Regions from separate parts of the Homo sapiens genome. Here region 2 is linked to region 1. Evidence: promoter capture Hi-C in human tissues and cell types (Jung and others, 2019). All regions are on one chromosome and are shown on one strand. The core of a region is centred on a gene start or on the middle of the fragment in contact, and the rest is flanking DNA. Distances in the headings are between cores, read along the strand shown.

What was found. The method cuts DNA at HindIII sites, captures the fragments that hold promoters and counts their contacts. A contact is called where the count stands out against the background at its distance.
Region 2: a fragment that was not itself captured here is called in contact with the fragment with the promoter of OSMR in region 1 in 2 of the 25 tissues and cell types used here (IMR-90 fibroblasts and aorta).

What each region holds. Positions count from the first base shown.
Region 1 is chr5:38,844,513-38,851,414 of GRCh38, forward strand. It overlaps OSMR (oncostatin M receptor), which reads left to right and starts at 1,500. Exons shown (of 18, transcript NM_003999.3): 1 at 1,500-1,875. It overlaps OSMR-DT (OSMR divergent transcript), which reads right to left and starts at 1,317. Exons shown (of 4, transcript NR_109951.1): 1 at 1,156-1,317. The HindIII fragment of the contact is 7,742 bases long and covers 1-4,009 here.
Region 2 is chr5:38,533,892-38,541,455 of GRCh38, forward strand. All of the region lies in intron 1 of LIFR (LIF receptor subunit alpha), which reads right to left. Among named protein-coding and RNA genes, the nearest start is that of LIFR, 19 kb to the right of the region's middle. The HindIII fragment of the contact is 4,458 bases long and covers 1,549-6,006 here.

The sequences.
Region 1 (6,902 bases), core at 250-2,749:
CAAATATTTACTATGCATCATGGTCTTTGTGGCCCCATTAGGTATTAAGTGTATTAGGGCCTTTAGGCCTTTGTTTTAGGAAAAATAAAAAAACAAAAGGACTCTCAGCTTTCCTTGGGATGACATTGGGGAGGAGCCAGATATGTGAACAAACACAAAAGTAACATTTTAAAATAATTCTGACATTATTTTGAGTCATCCAGTCAATTCAATATAGGATTCTAAGATATGTTTATGGTCGATACTTGTTGATCACTCTTGGTTCCCTCCCCCACCCCCCTCCTACAACCTTGCTTTTGTGATACTTTCCAGGGTCCCCAAACTCAAACCAAACTAGGCTCAGCTGATCTGGAGCAAGGCCCCTTGCCTGCTGATTTGTCAGGCATCCAGACAGGCGAGGCTATGGGAGCTCCCGGTCCGAGGCTGCCTCGGAAGGCTCCTGTTATCCTCTAAGAGAGGTGAAATGCACCTTTCAAAGGCCCAGACACGGTAAAGATTGGATGGCATTTTTGGCCGGGCGCAGTGGCTGACGCCTGTAATCCCAGCACTTTGGGAGGCTGAGGCGGGCGGATCACGAGGTCAGGAGATCGAGACCATCCTGGCTAACACGGTGAAACCCCGTCTCTACTAAACATAGAAAAATTAGCCAGGCGTGGTGGCGGTCGTCTGTAGTCCCAGCTACTAGGGAGGCTGAGGCAGGAGAATGGTGTGAACCCGGGAGGCGGAGCTTACAGTGAGCCGAGATCGCGCCACTGCACTCCAGCCTGGGTGACACAGTGAGATGCCGTCTCAAAAAAAAAAAAAAAAAAAGGTTGAAGATTGGATGGCATTTTTAAGGGGAAAAGTAAACCATGTGTAGCATGTCGTAGCATTGGGAAATAAAGGTTTCGGGACTGTTGTAGCCGAAGAAACTTTGTCGGACAGGGCGTTTCTGGATAGAACGCGAGTAGGGGAAAAATGGGGACCGTTTGATTCGGTTCAAACACGTTTTCGTTGCTCTGGACGCCAAATGGAAACACGGCCAAAATTTAGTTAAAGGACTTCTCTTGCCTGAAGATTTTCGGACGGGGATCTCACGGGTTTGGCCTCTGGGTTGGGATGACAAGTGCCCCTGTGGGATACACAGCCCCAGGCCTCATCGGTCACTCGGCTTACCTCTGGTTCCGCCGGCTGGCCCGTGCGTCCTTGGCCGGGGCAGGAGCAGCGCTGCGCGCGGGGCACGGAGCCTCGGCCGCCGAGTTTTCGGTTTCCAAGTTTCCTTCCCAGGCCTCTCCCACTTCCTCTTCTCACCAGTGCCCGCCCGCCCGCAAAGTCCGGGTTGTGAGGCTGCGCCTCCCCCAGGATCGCGGCCGCCTCCCCCCGGGACTGAAGGGAGGGAATTCCTGTGGGTCCCAGGAGTGCCAAGAGTGCGCAGCAAGACGGGAAATTGCAAAAGACCTCACCCCTCTGCCCTCCCCCGCGGTTTTCCAGTAACTCCCGCCCCTCCGCGCTTGCCCCGCAGCTGATTCATAGCCCCGGCCCGGGCCGCCTCTGCACGTCCGCCCCGGAGCCCGCACCCGCGCCCCACGCGCCGCCGAGGACTCGGCCCGGCTCGTGGAGCCCTTCGCCCGCGGCGTGAGTACCCCCGACCCGCCCGTCCCCGCTCTGCTCGCGCCCTGCCGCTGCGCCGCCCTCGGTGGCTTTTCCGACGGGCGAGCCCCGTGCTGTGCGGGAAAGAATCCGACAACTTCGCAGCCCATCCCGGCTGGACGCGACCGGGAGTGCAGCAGCCCGTTCCCCTCCTCGGTGCCGCCTCTGCCCAGCGTTTGCTTGGCTGGGCTACCACCTGCGCTCGGACGGCGCTCGGAGGGTCCTCGCCCCCGGCCTGCCTACCTGGTGGGTGAAAACTAAATGATTCATTCCTTACAGGCCGCACAGTGCCGAGTCGCCCATTTCTCAGACTGTTTGAAATTCACCATCCCAGCGCCTTTTTCTCAAATGATGGTGGAATGTTTGTTGAGTGGAAAATTCCCACTTGAATCCCTCTTTCCTCTCTCCCAACACATCGTGTGGAGGAGTTCATTGCTTCCCCTACCTCTCCTCTCGTAACCCTTGACTCCCACCTGAGAGAGCCATTTTTCTGGGAATCCGTGTATCTCTCCCACCTGGTCCCTAGCGTAGAAGCGGGAGGAGCTCAAGCACAGGTGGAGAGAGGAATCCCCGGGCGACTCTGCAATAGCGTCCGTCCGGGGCGCTTACCTTCTTCTCCAGCCACTTGAGTGGAAGTGGCCCTCTACATTCTGGAAACCTAGGCACGGAGGGGTTCAGTAACTTGTCCAAGGCCATATGGCTAGCTGTGAGGGCACTGAAATCCGAGCCCGGCTCTCGCAGGCCAGGGCTTTACCCCTGACACCGCGATTCCTTTCTCGATAGTTCTTCATCTGCCCTTCATCCACCTACCCATGCATGCCTGCATCCGTCCATCCATCCTGCCTGCCTTGCTGCGGGAGGCACAGTGCTAGGTGCTGCTGATGGAGTGGCTTGGTAACAGACCTGCCTTGAAAACACTTTGGGAACAAGATATTCAAGAGAAGTAAATGGAAGGGTCTATGAAGGCAGAGAAGATAGAATTGAATGTAGGATACTTAGTTTGAGCTAGAAGGAATTCTGATGGAGGAGAAAGAAATTTTTAGGTTTTATTCCCAAGATTAAAACTGACTTTGGAACATGGGTCAAACTACTTATCACCTCTTAGTTTCCTTGTCTGCAAATAATAATGGTTCATACTTACTGTGAACCAGCCCCTATTCTAAGCACTTGACATATGCTAGCTCATTTAAGCTTCACGGGTGAGGCGGGTACTAGTTTTTTATTATATTTTATTGAGGAAACTGAGGCCCAAAGAGGTTTTGTAACTTTTCTAGGGTTACACAGCTAGCAGGTGACAGTATCAGGATTTGGGTTTGGAGTCTGCTCATGATCACCGTGCTGTAGCTCAAACTCTAAGACTGGGTGGGGTGTTTCATTATGGTCTTGCTTTGTCTCTCTCCTGGGCTGCTTTAAAATGCACTCAGAGCCCTTGATGTCCCCAAACTCCGCTGTGTCTGAGAATCATTTCTTGAGCTTTCAAAGCATCAAACTCCAAACACAGCCTTCTATTCAGAATCTTCAGGAAATACTCAGTTTGTTTTCCCCGTAGCATTTGTTCAGTGCCTCCAGTGGCAGGAAGCTCACCACCTCACATTTTATTGTAGGAAGAGCTAGTTCTCTGCTGTAAATTGCCTCCTTGTGACTTACATCTTGGTCCCAGTTCCCGTTTGTCCCAGCAGGTGTGGCTAAGCCTTTTGTATCAAAGGTGGCTTTGAGAGAAAAAGGCTGGTCTTGGGTGTTTCTTCCGCAGGGACCCGAGCCGCATTGGGGAGAACACATAAACACTGGTTCTTTCCCCCTCTACCCTTTTCTTTAACCTGAACAGACCAGGAACACATGCAGAGGTGTTCCTGGATCTCTCATGTTTTTGTAACCCTTTTGTCCTGAGGACAAAACCGAATCAGGAGAACTGTTACGGTTTTCAAAGGGGAATCAGTGGTACTGTATTTAACAAGAAGAAGGTGTGTATTTTCCTTGTGGGAAAGGACTGGGGCATTCATTGGCTGCAGTAGAAGAGAATCTTAGTGAGTGTGGTCTTGCTCACTTACAGGAACTGTGAGCCTTGGCCCTCCTTTCGCTGGGGGAGAAAATCCTTCTTGATTGCTTAAAAAATGTGTAAAATGGGGGGAAAAAAACCCAAACCAAAACAAATAGAATATCATGGCCTTGCTGGAGAAATCCCCTCCTCCAAGCAGGCTTCTTTGTAGCTACATGAAGAGAGAATTTCTTTTCCAACAGCTGTGTTGGTGGCTTCATAGCCTTCCTTCCCTCCTCATTTTAGTTGTACTGGTCGCTCTGCATTTGTGCACTCCACGTTGTATTCTATTTTTGTGTTTTAAAAATAATACAAATAATAACAACTCATTCTCACTCAATATAGAAGTGAAGTGAAATGTAGACGTGCCATCACCATCCTCCCTCCTCCCACTCAGAAGAGGGAAGGTTAAGTTTGATAATACCATTCTAAGGCTTGTTTTTCTTTTCTATAGTTTTACATAATACATACATATACATATGTTTTAAATATGCAAATTATCTTACTATACTTATTGTACAGCTTGCTTTTTCACTTTCCAAGTCTTAGAGATCTTTCCATTGTCTCTAGATACCTCTTTTGTTAATGGCTACGTGTTATTCTTTTTGTGTGTGTGTGAGATGGTCTCACTCTGTCACACAGGCAGAAGTGCAGTGTCATGATCATGGCTCACTGCAGCCTCGACCTTCTGGGCTCAAGTGATCCTCCCACCTCAGCCTCCTGAGAAGCTGGAACTACAGGCACATGACACCACACCTGACTTTTTTTTTTTTGTATTTTTTGTAAAGATTGGGTCTCTCCATGATGCCCAGACTGGTCTTGAACTCCTGGGTTCAAGCAGTCCACCTGCCTTGGCCTCCCACAGTGCTAGGATTACAGGCGTGAGCCACTGCGCCCGGCCAGCTACATGTTATCCTAAAGTAGAAATAGAATGTAATTTATCCATCCTTTCCTATATTGATGGACATTCAGCATTAGCAACGTTGCTTCAGAGCAGATCACACATTCATCTTCCTGCTCAAGTGTGAGTATTTCTGTGGAAGAGAATCTGAGGAGAGGTATTCCTGTGTCAAAGGGTTTGCCCCTTTTTCCACTTGATAGATACGAAGTGGAAGGTAACGATGTAACTTAATATTTTTGTAAAGTTTTAGACAGCTGATCCAATAGCATTTATTTAATAATTCATCTTTTTTCCAACTCATTTGAAATTCTGTTTTTATCATTAAATAAATTCCTGTTTGTAAAAGGGTCTGTGTCAGGATTCTATTCTGTTTCATTGATCTTTTTTTTTGTTTGTTTTTCCCTAAACCAATATTACTCTGAGTTAACTACTGTAGCTTTATAGTGTTTTTGAAAATCTTGTGGTATATATTTGTGCTTTTTAAAACAACTTTTTTTATAAATCACATACATTTTCTCTTTACAAATAGCCTGTCAAGTTTAATAAAATCCTATTTTTAATTAAGATTTTATTGAGTTTATAATTGTTAGCAATTTTTAATGCTTTAATGTCCACTTTGGTATGAGCTCCAAGCTTTAAGGAAACTGTGTCATGTGAACTTTGGTTAATGACTTATCTGATTTCAAATATTGGCTACACATCAGATTAACTGGGTCAGTTTGGATAAATTACTTGTCAACTTTCTTATCCTTAATTTCCTCCTCTGTGAATGGGAATAATAATATAATCCTTTTCTTAGCGCTGTTGTGAGGATTCAATTAATAAATGCATGTACGTCACTTAGCAAAGCACCTTGTAGAGAGTTAGTATCTTATACATGCTAGCTGGGATCTTTTTCATATTTATATCCTACTCATGGTTTTGCAGAGTGCCCTATTGGTAATAGGAACCAGTAAATATTTCCTTTATTTATTGGTAGTATCCTAAGAGACAAAAATATATCATATATTTTAAATATAGTAGTGTTTCTCAAACTTGAATGTGCATATGAATCACCTGAGGATATTATTTAAATGCAGATTCAAGAGGTCTAAGGTCTGGCCTGAGATTTTGCATTTCTGACAAGCTACCAGGTGATGTCAATACTGCTGGTCCTTTGTCCACATTTGGGTGTACAGTCTTGTACAACTATTTAAATTTATGCTGCTAGTGATAGTACTTCCTATTTGTAATGAATATGATTGAAAGCATTTTTAAATTGATTTCTTTTAAAATTACATGCTAAAGAACTAAATTATAGTTGTTTTCCTTTCTTCCTTCTTCTCTCCCTCTCTTCCTTTATTTTTGTTAAAAGAAAGAGGGTTGGTGAGATCGCTAAATAGAATACCTAGCTCTGTTCTTAGATCTAGAGTCATTGAGGCAATTAACTATCTGGATTATTTTAAACTGTTGACTTAAGATGAAGACAGTCATATAAAATATATGCAGCCTGAATATGACATTTAATGTCAACTAAAGAAAAGCACAATTGTAAGTGGCTTCTGCAAATAGAAAAATGTAAGACATAAAGAACACTTGGAAAAATGTAAGACAAAATAATTCTCAGAAAAGAGTGATTGAGGTTTCATTGTTCATGTGTAATGCCAGCTTTTGAGAAGATGTGCATCAACAGAAGTTACGCTTTCTTGTGAGTAAATTTTTCATACACCGTGGTATTTCTTGGTCACCTCTTTCTACTTTCAATCTCCCTAATGGGGGATTTTGAGCAAATTTACTTCATATATATACTTCAGTGTGTCTGTCTGTCAGCCGGGGATGGTAGTATGATTTTTCTACTCAGGACACTGGTTACTTTTTGCATTTGGAAATAGATCATTAAAGTATCTACACTCTCTCAGAACCTAAGAGGTTACATTTTCTGTACAGAAAAACACGGCATCCTCCCAGGCTGATCCAGTAGGTAAAAACTGCCAACCTTTTTCAAGTCTGTTCAATACCATGGGTTGGACTGGAAACACAAACACTGTCAACTAGTTTAATCATGTTGGGATATATGGTTTCAAGTGTGGAAATAAGGAAATTGCCACTTGCACAAGACTGAGCTTAATATGTTTAAAACATGCACACACACACGTTTTAAGGAATGCTTTATGTTGCAGAACTGTATAACTTAAAGTGAGTTATCTATAATTTCTCTTATTCTGCCCACCTCCCTCCCTCCATCTCAGCTCTAAATTTATAACTTAGTAAGTGGGTGTGTCTTTGGGGCTGGTTTGGATCCCTCAAGTAGAAGAGAGCAAGCCAGAAACACATGTGCAAGAGATTTACTGGGGGAAG
Region 2 (7,564 bases), core at 2,528-5,027, 310 kb before region 1:
TCTCAAGAATCTATCTTTTTGCCATACAATAAGATGACTCCCTTGTCATTAATTCTCAAAAGAAATTAAATACTAAGCTGGAACACTCGAGGGAGAAAAGACTCTGAACTACTGTAAAGGTAAATAAGCCTACGAGTGGGTCACCCATCCACAGGAGTGGAGATGCTGGGAGTTGAGCAAAACAAGTGCAATCACACAGGCAGTAAACAGTACCCGCACTGCTCATTTGTATTCTTCCTAGTGTCCCTTTCTTTACTGTTTCCTAGGAGGAAACATCAACATTGTTTAAAAACTTTGACCAGCAACTATTTTCCTTATCCCATTTCCCTCCCACAAGATCTTAAATTCCTCCAGCATTAGCTCCCAGTGAAGAAGGCTTTTCAGGATCATAAACTCTGCAGTTTGGTAGACTCCATTGTGTTATTGAAGTGAAGTGTAGGGGCTCTTCAAGTTAAAAGAAAGAAATACTTACGAAAAACATACACTTGGCCAGACTGAGAAGTTCTATCTGGGAAGACTAGACTGCACAGGAAGGCATGAATAGCTTTTCAGAAAGAGGGAAGCTGGAACAAAGTGATGTTTCAAGGAGATTAACTAGGACATAGCTGCAGTAACAAAGATGTATGCAAAATTTATCAGTATATAGGTCTAGTCCTAGCAAAAATCTAGTCCTCAAAGAGCCCACATAACCCAGCACAAGGAATCTGAAAAGACTGATACCAAGATGCATCACTGAGAATATCAAAATATCTGTATCAAAGATGTTACAAGTTTCCAGGGAGTGGAGGCCATACACAAGGGCTCAGGAATAAGAACAACATCAGAATAAATTAGTCAAGTCAGGCCTCTGTGACTTGCGGTGTGAGTGTGGACAAACCCCCATTGTAACACAGGGATGGTGACAGCACCACCTCCAGAGCAGGTTACGGGTGTACATGAGACACTGGGTGTGTGACCCATAAATATTCTTGAGAAGGGGAGGAACACACCAGACTTTTTAGCAATAAAAGCTAAAAAGAACACCTTCCAAAATACAAGTGAAAATTATTTTCACACTTGAATTCTATACTCAAACTGTTGAGTGGATAACATATATTTTACAAAGACATGCAAAATGTCAAAAGATGTATCACCTTCCGTGTACCCATTCTCTGGAAGCTACTGCAGGACATGACTGACCAAAATGAGGTACAAAACAAAAAAGAACAAGAGAGAAAATATACAATCCATACAACTGGAGTCAGAACCTAGAAAGAGGCCTTGCACACTGCCTCTGCTGTGTGTCCGGGCCACACTAAAATGGCTGCCATTCCACAGCTGCCAGACCCTTCAGGACTCCTTAGGCCAGCACCCTTTTTCCCTTCTTGCTAATTTCATCTGCACCCTCCTCAAGTCAGCAGTGATGCTCCTAGCAGGAGGTATGTTTGTCATTGCCTCTGAGAGTCCACAGGTTAGATGCCATCTGCTGCTGCTTCCACAACACTTTAATTATATTTATGTCATGGGGTTGCACAATTCATGTTCCATAGGCCAAATCTTACCCGCCTCTTGATTTTGTAAATCTTCCTAGAACACAGCCACGCCCACTAGTTTAAGTATAACCTATGACTACTTTCCCATGACAATGTTAGAGCTGAGTGGCTAGGATAGAGATTGAATGGTCCACAAAGCCTAAAATATTTACTGCCTGGCCCTTTACAGAAAGAGTTTGCTGACTTCTGCTCTACTGCTTCACTTCCTAATCTTATAATTCTCCCTACAGACCGTCAGATCCTTGAGAGCAAACACATCCGAGTTCACTGTAACCCTCAGTGTCCAAGCAGTACCTGGCACAAAGCAGACACCAAAAACTCTAAGCCAGCTGGCTGAATGAATACCAAGGCACAAATTATTATATGCCCACACAGTATACTTTCATTGTTAGGCTGCATGCTAACCCAGGTACTGCCAACACTAGGAACCCAAGTTAAAGCTCTGGCTCCCAAACTGCACTGAGGCACCCCAAGACACCAAAGCAAACTGACAGAGCTATCACAGAATATCTAAGTTTTTGAAGGAAATAAAGTGACATCTGTCCAACACTCTGAAAACCGTTAGTTCAAGGTAGTCCACAGTTTCAATATTTGCTCATGCTACATTTTTTTGTGTGACATCGTATCTTTATCTTTGGTGAAGAGAGGGAGGGACTAGTAATTGCTGGGATAAAACACAAGTACTACCCAAACAAATCAATGTAGAAATGGAAATGAGGGTGCTGGTTTCCAAGATTTGGGAAGCTATGCAGTACTCAATAGCTTCACACATCTCATCAGTAATTAAGGTTTTTTAAGAATGAAATAAAAATACTACCATAGACCCTTCATATCCCAGGGTTCTGCAACCACAGATTCAACCAACCTTGGATTGAAAATATTCAGAAAACAAAACCAATAAAAGACAACAGTACAACAATAAAAAAACAGTAAAAAAAAAAGTACCGTTTAACAACTGCTTACATAGCATTAACACTGTATTAGGGATGATTTAAAGTAATCTAGAGATGATTTAAATCATATGAGAGGATAAGCACAGGTTATATACAAATACCACACCATTTTATATTAGGGACTTGGCATCCAAAGATTTTCACATCTGTGAAGGTCTTGGAACGTGCCCCCACAGAGATAGAGGGACAATTATATTTTTCCTTTTAAGTGGATACACGTTATTTCTTCAAACTGCTACTAAAGTGCTTGATCATAAATACTCATTAAATTGTTTGGACCCAGCTATTTCATAAAGAGAACTGTTAGGTAATTCTTTTGACTACAAGCATCATAAAAAACATTAACAAAACACGACGGGCACTGTGAACTATGACAGTCTGGGGACCTGAGTTAGAGGATAGCTTGGCTGCTTAGGGATTCCACTGTATCATACTTCAATATGCGTTCTGCATGTAGGAAAATAATATTGAAATTTAACATTTGCTACATTATAAAGACAAATCTATCACTGTGCATAATGCAGGATATTCATTCCCCAAAATAACTTTTTGGTCTATTATTCAAATAGAATAATCTTGTCAATTTTTTTTTCTTAATTCCTTTGCATTTCCTGGGAACTTTTAAAAATAGACTGTCTTCCAAAGTTTTTCTTTTTCAGGATCCTCCATGTCAGTTTTAGTAATCTCCATTGCAGTGTGGACTTCCCTGTTAATTCAAGAGCCAGTCCATTATGAACCTCAGCATGTCAAAACAAGTTTGAATACATCACTTCCATGCTTAAAATCCTCCAAAGGCTCTCCACTGTTTCAACACACAGTTCCAGTTCCATACTGTGGGCACAGCCCTTCGAGACGGCCATGAACCCCTTCCTCTCCATACCGCAGCAGCTCCCCAAACACTCCACATTCCCTTTGGTCTCAAGGCCTCTCCCAAAACCACTGCCTCCAATGGAGTGCCCCCTGCAATGTCTCCTATATTTCCCATTCTTCCATCTTTCGGGACTCACGCTATCATACTTTAGAGTAACATCTGACTACTCATATCCCACTTCAACTACGCTATAAGAGTGACTGGTATGTAACAGTCTTCAATAAATATAAAAGTCTACCAAACGAATGAACTTGTTTCTTCCCTTTTAACGATGAAGTGCTCTATTATTAAACAACCTGAAGAACATTCCTCCAATAAATCTTTAACATGCAGGAAAACATGACGAAAACTTATCTCTAAAAAGAAACAGGAACATCTCCATTTCCCAGTACTTCTCACTAATACCAAGGATTGTCTTTAAAAAAAAAAATTATTCTGTTGGGCCATAAATGGCATTTCTTTTTATTGCGTAATTAAAATATCCTTTCATATGTTTATTGATAATTTGCAATGCTTTATTTATAAGCTGTTTATTCTCTTTTGCTCCTTTTTCTAATTGGGCATTAATCATTTCCTTAATGATTGCTAAGAAAAAAAATCTTAATATGCATATTAACTCTGTTACATACATAGCAAATAGATTCCCCAATCGCTTTTACTTTCCAGTGAGTCTTTTGTTTAACTCTTACTAGATCAGATTTCTCTATTTTGTCCTTTGTGGTTTCTAACCATAAAGGTTTTTCTCATGCCGGGACTATGCAAATTGTCCTGATGTTGCCTTCAAGTACATTTAAGGTGTTTCACATTTTAAGCTTCATGCCATATAAAATTAATTTCAGTGTACAGTTGAGTCAAGGACCCACCTTTTCTGTTTCCCTCTAAGTGGTTACCACTTATCCCAACACCACTTATTAGGTAATCCATTCCTTCTCTCACTGACTTGAGATGCCATTCAGATTCTATTCCTACTTAGCTTCCTTGGTGGGACTCCTTAGCCTACTGCTCCTTCTATCCTTCACTTCCTGACTGAACAGTATTATCTGTGCTTGTGGCTATAACATCACTTGTATGCTAATTACTTCCAAATCCGTGTTCCCAGGATTGGCCTCTTCCCAGTTACAGATTAACCATTCACTAGACAATTTCTTGCTTACTTAGACAAATCCACTCAAGTAAGGTTCCTTCAGGCATGACAAAATATTCTGATGCTTCATATCCACTTGGATATTTCAGATTCCTCAAAAACTCCAGATGTACTGAATTAAGCTCACTTTCCCCTCCAAACCTGCTCTCTTGTAGCCCCGTCTTAGCCCATGGCACCAGTGTCTTCTGAGTAACCCTGACTCTTCCTTCTTCCTCACACCTCCCACCTGACTTGCCACTTTTACCTAAAACATGCCTTGACTCTTTCCCCATCCTCTCCCTCCAGTCCATTTCTACTGCTCTGGAGGCTGAGGCCCTCCTCACTCTCTGGCATACGTAATTTACAACCCTCTGGCAAGGGCCTCACACAATCCATCTTCCATAGTGAGTTGCAAAGCTTTAAATAGCATCTATATCACTAACCCTATCATTCTTTGAAGCTCCAGGCCAAATATCAGAAGGCTGGCCCACCAACAGCTCAGACAACCGTCCACACTAAAATTCACACGTCTATTCCGCAATCTTCTTCCACCTCCTCTACTCCTTTCCTAGGGGCATCTCTTCCTCTTGGTTCTCTCTTTTTTTTTTGAGACGGAGTCTCGCTCTGTCACCCAGGCTGGAGTGCAGTGGCGCGATCTCGGCTCACTGCAAGCTCTGCCTCCCGTGTTCACGCCATTCTCCTGCCTCAGCCTCCCGAGTAGCTGGGACTACAGGCGCCTGCCACTGTGCCTGGCTAATTTTTTGTATTTTTTAGGAGAGACGGGGTTTCACCGTGGTCTCGATCTCCTGACCTAGTGATCCGCCTGCCTCGGCCTCCCAAAGTGCTGGGATTACAGGTGTGAGCCACCGCGCCCGGCCTTCCTCTTGGTTCTCATGCTGACCACTATGTCCAACCAGACACAGTGCTCTGTTTATGCTCCCACTGGACATCAATTTCCCCTTTAGGCATTGTTCTTATCATACCAGGTATTATGGAAATCATTCTCTCCCTTCCTTCCACCCTCTTTTCCACTATAAGCTAAGATCAGAGCCTTATCTTTGTAAAATCCATAGTCTAGGAGTGCTTTATATCCACCACACGTACAAGATTTATTTGGTGACTGAAGCAAATCCATTCAAATAGAGTCCTCGGTGAGGACTTAAAATATTTTCATACCATTCAGTTATTTGTCTACATTCTGAAGAGTAAGCTGACAAACTTTATGCTTTTCAATGAACCTGTTTGCTATACAAAAATTCATTAATAAAAAGAATACTGGCTCAAATTGAAGTTTTTTTGGTTTTTTGGGGGGGGTAATACATAGAGTAAAACTATCCCTAAAGGCCTTTCTAAATTCTAGGAGGGGGAAAAATACTAATTACACAATAATTCTATCTAGGTAACAAGCTGGTTTTAGCTAACTCTACCATGTAAAATATAATTTATACATATATTTCAGATATTATGCATTATTTAAATACTGTTTATTAAGGAGCAGCCACTTTTCTAAGTTCTTTCAATGAAAAATTGGATTTAATTTTCATATCAATCCTATAAGGTCGGTATTATTCATATTATTTCCCTCTTTTTATAATAAGAAAACTGAGGCACAGAAAGGTCATACAGCTAGTAAGGAGCAAAGTGGGATCTGTAGCCAACTCTGACTGCAAATCTCAGCTCCAGGCCATTATACTAAACTGTAAAATGAGCAACTAAGCTGGAGTCAGGAGTCCTGGACTCCAGTCCCTATTCTACCACTGAATAGGTGACAGGTAGGGGCTCGCAGATAAATCACCTAACATCTCAGGTCTTAGCTCTCAAATTACACAACTAAGACCCAGCACCTGCTTTCCCTACTTTAAGTATCATAAGAAACTTACGGTTGTTTTGTTTTCAGAAAACCTTGTTTGTCACCTGCAGGAACAAACTGGTAGATGTACAATGTGATTAGAAATTCAGCTCTCCCCCGACCTGTCCGGTGAATACTGTTGCTGGGGGAAACACCACCTGCTCTACCAAGCACTTCCACTAATCACATTATAACAAAGATCAGACAGTCTATGTTCAGAGAACAAATGGAAAATAACTGCCATCTTACTGTTCTCCTTCCAACTCTAAGTACACTTTTAATTGGTTAAGCTCTCAACTCAGCAGGTGCAAACTCAAACATACTCCAAGAGCCAGCCAGATGAAATGACTGGAGCCATTCACATGACACAGGCTGGCGGGCAGCCCCTCGCCAGCTCCTTGTGTCTGTATTACACCACAGAGGACGAGCGGCCAGTACAGCCACAGATCTTCCAGTTTTTCCAAAAGGGCAGGAAATCCAGGTTGTTGCTTTTTTAGTTTTTTTTATTATTATTATTATGAAATATCCTTATTTTTAAATGCTGGCAATTAATTCCAATTAAAAAAAAAACACTATGTGGGCCAAACAAAATACATTTGCAAGCCAAATATAGTTCTTAGGGAGCCAGTTAACCTGTCACAAAATGTACTGGCATTAAAAAATTCTTGTCTTGCTGCTGAAATAATCTTAAAATATAAACTGTTTTAAGACCTAGATTTCAATGCACAGATGTTGACCAAAATGTGCCTGAATGCTTTCTTAACATTCTTTAGGGTCAGAATCTGAAGCTTTCCACTCCAAAATAATTCAAAATTTTTTTCTTTATGACATTATTTAACCCCAGATATCAAAATCTTAAGCATCATCTTAGATTATGCTTCTCAAAACAACAACTAAAATAAAGCCTTTAGCTCTGGCTTCAGACCACGGTCTACAACATCTAAGCAGGTGAAACATCTTCTATGTAAGAGTGGAACAGCATATGAAAAACATAACAGCACCTAAAATAACTGATATTTGGCAAAGCTATTTCAGAAAGGGGCATTCTTGTTAAGAAATAAAATCCTACAGACACAGAGGCCTGTGAGCTTGATAACTGATCCTGGATAAGATGATCAACAGTACTAAGAAAGGAATCCTAGAAAACCTCAGACCCATGCACGTCAGCCCATCCTTAGCCTCGACTTGATAAGCTGTTGTACTGGGAAAAGCAAGGATCAGAAACAACAAAATGTA